Linked DNA regions of Homo sapiens: region 2 is linked to region 1. Evidence: promoter capture Hi-C in human tissues and cell types (Jung and others, 2019). All regions are on one chromosome and are shown on one strand. Each heading gives the region's core, a stretch centred on a gene start or on the middle of the fragment in contact. The rest is flanking DNA. Distances are from core to core; before and after follow the strand shown.

Region 1 (3,699 bases), core at 739-3,238:
GCATTCCAGGTTCATGCTTAACAGTTGAGCACTTAGTTGCATTCAAAGTACTTTGCCCAGTTAGAGTACATACACCTTCAAAACTAGGATATATGGAATAAAAATTTGAATTTTTCCATGTTTAAATTCTTCTTGAAATTTCTAACACAGTTGTTTTCACTATCCCTTTATTCTTATTTGTAAATTATTTTTAAATGACTAAAAAAAAATTAAAGGTCCACTGGATAGTAAATGGGGATAACTGTTTCTACTGATCCACTGAGGGTTAAGGGGACAGTGCAAATTTCAATAATGGTTCTGGAAATTTTCAGACCTATAACACCTCAGATTGTTTAAAGTTTTGGATTCTCTCGCTCCCCAAGAAAAAGCACTTATGCATGAAATAGTATGTATTAAAATCCCACAAAGTACATGGATTCCTTGAAGTCCGTAGATGAGGAAACTGTGACTCAGAGAATAAGTAACTAACCTACATTTTAATTTGAAGGTAAGACATTATAACTTTATTGCCTGAGTTTAGCCTAAATAATATTTAGCATTTTATAGCTAGAAGTATTTCTTGGCCAGTTTAATACTAAAATTGTTAATTCAATTACTTTAAAGAAGAGAATGAAGCAATAGCTACTATGCTTTAGGACGTGTTCTCTTCTTTCCTAGTCATCTTTCTTTTTCACATTTCCGAAGTCAAGGATCTTTTTAAGCTCTCTGTAGTATAATGTTACAAGGCCGTGCAAACCTCGATCCCACTGTTAACCTCAGACAGTTCATTTCTTTCTGTTGGTGCTGAGGATCACTATCAGGAAATGAAAGAAAGGCTGGTAGACACAGCAGTCACTCGATATGTATAGACTGAAGAGATATGAGAATGCAAACAATATTAAAAGAATTGCAGCTGGGTCATTTAGAAGGGAAAGGAATAATCTTTCTTGAGAAGGCAGCAAACCTGCTGCTGACCTTCTACCTGCTAGAATGTGAGTTACTAATCAATATGACATGTACAACAGCCTGTCAAGTTTTATTGCTTAATGAGCCAGCAGAAAAAAAAGCAAATGTATGTACCAAGCGGGGGGCTCATTGTTCCTTGGTTAATATGTAGCATCTAACAAAGCCACTAGCTGGATCCCTTGACAGGTGTTTTCTACTGCTCCATTCCTTTGTCCGAGGCCGCACATACCAATCAAACACCACAATGCAGAGGTGCTCAAGGCTAGGAGCTGCAGGAAGCTGCCATGGGGCTTCTGGGCAGTTTTGTCGGCATACTGGTCTATCTGGGTGTATCGTCGTAAAGGGGGATTCTGAATTCCATTGCAACCCCAAGTGCAAATGTGGAAATCAAGCAACTTGGAACTTGAAAAAAAAAATCTACTATGAGAAGGGAAAGTGACTGCAAGAGGAGTCAAAATGATTCCTCTTGTTGGAAGGCTACCTCCCACCCTGAAAAAAAATCTTTTTCCTTGTCCAAAGCAATATTTAGAAGTGTTTCTATAGCAATTTCTATATACGTGCTTATCTGTGTATCTTGCTGTGGCCTGGGAGAATGAGCACATTCTTCTTCAAGGCCACAGGATGCAAGAAAGGGACAAACTCGGGGCTGAAGTATGAGAGAGAGCTCTCCTGACGTTAACACACATAATTATGGTTCTCAGGCAAAGAGCAGGCCTTTGCTCCGTCAACAGGGGCCTCCGCGTGCCCCGCAAGGGAGCTCCCGCCCTCACCATCCTCGGTTTCAGGCGGAGCGTAGTTCTCCGCGGTCTCGCTGTCGTTGTTTTCGGTCTCCTCCTCGCCCTCGCCTTCGTGGGCCAGGCCGGCATCCTGGACGGCAGCGGTGACGTTGGTCCCGCGCGCGGACTGGAGGCCCGCCAGAAGCAGCCAGCCGACAGTCATCAGCAGCCCGGCGGAGCAGCCCGTGCCCCTGGGGCTCATGGTTCTCGGCCCCGACGGCCGTCCGAGGCGCAGTCGCCGCCGCGGCTCCTGAGGACAGGTACGTCGAAGAGAGCTGCGACACCCCGCCCGTAGCCGCCCGGCTCCGAATCCCGTGACGAACCGTGACGCCTCAATGGTTGCCGGGGCGCTGCTCCGGTGCTGAGCGCCTGGAACTCGCGCGGAGCTAGGCTGCGAGGCGTGCAAGACGGAACGCGACGAGAAGCCGCGTGCGACAAGTCCCTAGGAGAGGACGCCGCCCTTCCCCGCAACCGGAAGTTCCCTGCCCAGGGCGCCTCCTTGAGCCTTCCGGGTGCGGTAGGCGTTGCTGTCGGCTGCTCCTTCTGCCTCAGTTTATGGAGCGACTCTTCAGCCTCCTCGCTCACCCTGCCTGCTTTCTTTTAAGACATTTCTTTTTCGTACATAATGTTTACCCTTCCCCAAACTAGACTTCTTATCCCTCACATACTCTTCGTGTGACTTGGTTTCAAAATTTCTTATCCAGAATATCCAATTTGGGATGTATTGAGAAGGATTCGATTTCTTCTTTGGGATCAGAATAATAGACTTTGAGTAAGAAGAAATTTAGAAATCATCTGATACTCCAAGTCCCTCATTTTTAAGTGAAGAGATTAAGAATCAGAGAGATGAAATGACTCGCCCCAAAAATCCAGAAATTATTTACAAAGCTGGATCTCACAGTCATATCTCCCGAACACTTACTTACTCGATGATCAGTGATTCTTATGATTCAAGGTTAACGAAGAAGCCTTTAGTGGGGGTGATTGGGAGTTCAAGCGCTGAAAAGTTAGGGTTGACTTTTTTGATTCTGTTATTACAAATTTTACCTCATCTAGTAGTCACAATGTGGTTGTTTGTTGTTGTTTTTGAAAAGACATATAGGGTGCCATACTTTGAGGCTTAATGTTTAAATTCCTATGACAAGTGAGATGAAAGTGAACTTGCATACACTCTGGCTTTTGGAATATTTGAATATCTAGTCTCAGCAGACTAACAGATAAGGGGGGTAACAGAAAAGTATTAAGAGGTTCTTCAGAAACACTTATTTGTAACAAAATAGGTTGTTTGAAGCAGAAGTTGAAATTTTGTATTTGAATATTTTCTCCTGCAAAGGCTTCTAATTTTGAAAATACAAGGACTGCTAAACACCTTCAGTGTTAAAGTTCAAATTGGTATTGGTGAGAAGTCTCGGGAACATTTATGTCAATTAAAATACCTTAAAATATAGCGCTTGACAAGATTATGAGGGACGTTAACATGGAAAACTTAGATTTGATCTTGAGAAGTAAAGGCCTTTGTTTCATGGCTAAATGAGTCAAAATTTTTCTTTTTTGAATCCTGAGAGAAATAAGTCAAAAATTATGCCGTCAAACACAAACTTTAAAAAGATGATATATAGTATTGTTGCTGGCAAATTGTTGAGTGTTTCAAAGTCAATTTTAGGATCCATTGCTTCCTGAAGATAGTATCCTTTTTTAGCAGAGGAAGTCCCATAAACTCTAAAATATGTAATTTGACTCAAGGAAACATTAATAATCTAACAAATAATCATCTCCAAAGGGAGCCAGATGGGTCTCAAAGAGGACCTGAAAGATTTAACTCTGAAATAAAGACTATTAATATCTCTAATAGCAGCATTATAAATCACCTATAAAATACCATGTCACGCATGTAAGTTATAAGAAAAAGTATAATATCTGTCCTCAACAAACTTTTACTGTCTCTCTAGTACTCTCTCTAGCCACAAATAAATGAAAG
Region 2 (3,780 bases), core at 1,009-3,508, 33 kb before region 1:
AATAGTTTTGTGACTGGGTACCCTAGTAATTCCTGTCTAAAAGGTGAGAAGAATGAAGCATAACTAAAGTTGCGATTTGTAGAGAATCAGCAATTACACATATTATACATAATGTGGAGATGTTTGATCATTTTTTGTGGTATGGACAAGGTTGTTTTTGTACCTGAAAATGGTTTTCTATTAAATTATTTATGTTCAACAGGAGGACACCACGGTCTAGCTGCAAATGCCAGGTCTGCTCCTGGCCATCAGGGACTGCCATCCTCTTACTCAATTTTCTGTAGTAGAAAGTTACTGTATTAGTCTGTTTTCATGCTGCTGATAAAGACACACCTGAGACTGGGCAATTTATTAAAAAAAGAGGTTTAATGGACTCACAGTTCCACGTGGCTAGGGAGGCCTCACAATGATGGTGGAAGGTGAAAGGCACATCTTGCATGGCAGCAGACAAGACAGAATGAGAGCCAACTGAAAGGGGAAACCCTGTGTAAAACCATCAGATCTTGTGAGACTTATTCACTACCACAAGAACAGTATGGAGGAAACTGCCCCCATGATTCATTTATCTCCCACCGGGTCCCTCCCACAACACATGGGAATTATGGGAACTACAATTCAAGATGAGATTTGGGTGGGGACACAGCCAAACTATATTTGTATGTCTTGGGAATTTTGGTATTCTTCAGGAAATCTTAAACTTTGCAAACTAAATTGATACTTAAAAGTTGCTATAATGGGCAAATTTAGTTCCAAGCCTTCATTATGTTATGTTTCTGCTGTTCTAATTTTTTGAGTGTGAAGGGCTTGTGCTGCAACAGTTAAAAAACTATTTCAATAGTCATAATAATAAAAATGGCCATTTATCGTGTCTAATATGTACCAGACAGCATTTCAGGTGCTGTATATTTGGATTCTTTATTACCTCTCCCGAAACCCAATGAGGTAGATATGATTACAGAAAATGAAAGAGAAGCCCTAGACTGTACATAATTTCCTCACAGTCACACACAAAATAGGTGGCAGAGACACAGTACATTTTTACATCTCTCTAACCTCAAATCCCACATCATTTCTATTGATAATTGTTAATAAGTTTCAGAAACCTCTTATTTTCTATTATCAAAATAAAATAGGAAATGCTAAAAAGCAGCAGCAGTAGCAACAATAAAATAGAAAGTAAATTTTTATTAAAAAACTTTTGAGATTGCCTCCTTACCCAATGTAAGGGTTTTTTTTTTAACCTTAAATGTAGTGGATTATCTGATACTTGCATAATATTCTTCCTGTCATACTCTTGTTCCTTCAGCTGATCCCAACTAACTGGTTAAAAATAAGCTTCTGCTTGCTGCTTTCTAAAGAAGAGTGGCTTAGAATGGATTCCTTTCTGTGCTTTGGAGAAACTTATTACTGGTGGGTAAAACTTAGGTAACAAATTTCTCCATAGCACAGTAAGGAACCTATCTATGATTATATAAACCACAGATTATCTTAGAGAACAAAGTCCTGACCTGGATAGCATCAGAAAGTCCCCCTCTTAAGGTCCCTTCTGGTACATGGACTGATGAGCTGGGGAGGCCAGTGAAATATAGTGACATTTTTGGCTAACAATTATTTTACATTTTCCATTCTGGAGTTGCCCTTGAACTAGAATATTGCATGAAAGATGCCACCTAGCCAATAAAACTTCCCAAGAATCAGCTCACCAAGAAGGCTTTATCTTTTACAAAGTTTACCACAGGTTCCCAAAAAGGGCCATGACTACTAAAAGAGGTGTTGAGTCTTTAAAGTTATAACACTTTCCCATGCTTCCTTCTCTGAGCTATAAATCTCTGATTACCCTCTAGAATGTTGAAGAAATGGCAGAGGCGACATATTTGATTAGGGGTTGGGGTAAAGAGGTAACCTTGCTTCAGAGGTCTCAACCTTCCAAGTGTCTGTTCAACCAGAGGTGAAGATGCTCCAGGCTACAGATGGCAGTCTGACTCCGGCCAATGCCTGATGAGTCCCTTGGTTTGTACAGAGCAGAATAAGGAAAAGGGATGGGAGAGGAGCTATCTCAAGACTTTGTGTGAACTACTCAGCAGGAGCAAATAATTATTAATATTTATTTACTTGACCACTGGACCTGATATTGATGTGTAAAAATGTGTACAGAGGGGCAAAAGTTTTGGGATTTTTTTTTTGTCAAGTTATTAACACAGTTGTCGCTTACCCCTCTGTGTTTCAATGAACCTAGGAGGACTGCTTGCAAGTTCCACACTCCTGTCTGGCTGTACTCTGTCACCTTCTGGCCCTTTGATGACCCCTGTGCCTCCTCACACTGTTGCTCCCTTCCTCTCACCCTTTTCCCCAAGTGTGGGCACAGATCTGTCTCCCAATTCTCCAAAACACAGCTAAGACCAGACAACTGTATTAAACCAAATCTTACTCTTGGCTTAAGAATTGCAAAAGGGAATTAAAGCATAGAAAACTTATAAAATTGGTAGAAAGCTTAAATGTGCTCAAGGTCCCCATGCCTAGCAGAGTCCCATGTTACTGTCTCCCTCCTTAGGTCATGGCCTTCTTCCCAGGGGCCATTGCCAGCCTGGCCTTGTCTCCACTCCCCAGCCCAAGCCCTCAACTCCTCAAAGGCTTCCTCTCACTCCCAGGCTCAGAGCAGCTTCTGCTGGGATATGATTCCTCTCACAAGGAGACAAACTTGTGACTGAACTGTAGAGCCCATCACCCCTACCACTTAAAAAAATTATTTTTGCTTCATCTTTGCTTAACCAGAGAGCTAAAATAGATGTTTTCCCAATATACAAAAAAAGACAATTTTATCTTAAAGTAGAATTCATATCATATCTCTACCTCTAATAGAAGTTTCAGACCCTTACCCCAATTCTATCAAAAAATATAGGAGGTCTAATCTTGGGCAAAGCACCCTATTGAATGAGACATAGATAATATATTGTTGACATTATCACATGTGTTATCATCTCTATTGACAAAACAAAAACCAGTTGTTCCTGTCTCTCATATTTAACAAAATAATTGTGGCTGTATTTCTTTCAATATCCTCCTTTCTGGAAAGAAAATTTCCATGGAGCTCCCTTGGACCAGAATAATATCAAATTTCTAACATTATTATGGAATTAATTAATAAGGTAATATGCAATTTAATAGCATAAAGGCACCTACTTTTTTTTCCTAGTGAAAACACTGACACACTTTAACCTATCTTTAGTCATGCAGTGAGAGGCTTTGTATACTCCCATTGACACAGTGGGGACCCACTGGTGTTTCCTCAGTGACATGAGAACCACCTAAAGCCATGGTCCTTTAAAATTTCCACCTAAAAAACTTTTGTAACCCAGCCCCATCTGACACCTCCATTTTGCCAGAAGCCTGTAAGTTATTAAGCAATTATCTCTGTAACTCATGTTTCTTCACGAAATGAGCTTCTTTATGTAATGAGCTTCGAGCTGGGTTCTGCCAATTTCATTCAGTGTGGCTGTGTTTAATAGTGATGTAAGTGACTTCTTGGCCATCTGTAGTAAGTTATTTTCTCATGTTCCTTGTTTCCATTTCCCTTGTTGAGAAGGTCATTTCCTTGTATTTACATGACTTCTTTCACAAACTCCCTAGCCTTTCTCTGTAGGGTTTTGCACCCTGATTCAGTCTTTTACACAAGGTCACAGCCCCCTGACTATTCCCATGGATTCTGTTCTTTCTTTTTCTTCCGATATTGTCCCACCTTTACCCCACTCCCCTGGCTACTTCGCACTGCTCATTATAGCT

Evidence for each region. Contacts are between HindIII fragments. The study calls those that stand out against the background at their distance.
Region 2: a fragment that was not itself captured here is called in contact with the fragment with the promoter of SPACA1 in region 1 in 2 of the 25 tissues and cell types used here (hippocampus and stomach).

Annotation. Positions count from the first base shown.
Region 1 is chr6:88,046,130-88,049,828 of GRCh38, reverse strand. SPACA1 (sperm acrosome associated 1) reads right to left here and starts at 1,988. Exons shown (of 7, transcript NM_030960.3): 1 at 1,716-1,988. The coding sequence starts at 1,923. The HindIII fragment of the contact is 21,921 bases long and covers 1-3,699 here.
Region 2 is chr6:88,079,236-88,083,015 of GRCh38, reverse strand. No RefSeq gene overlaps it. Among named protein-coding and RNA genes, the nearest start is that of SPACA1, 33 kb to the right of the region's middle. The HindIII fragment of the contact is 4,615 bases long and covers 1-3,780 here.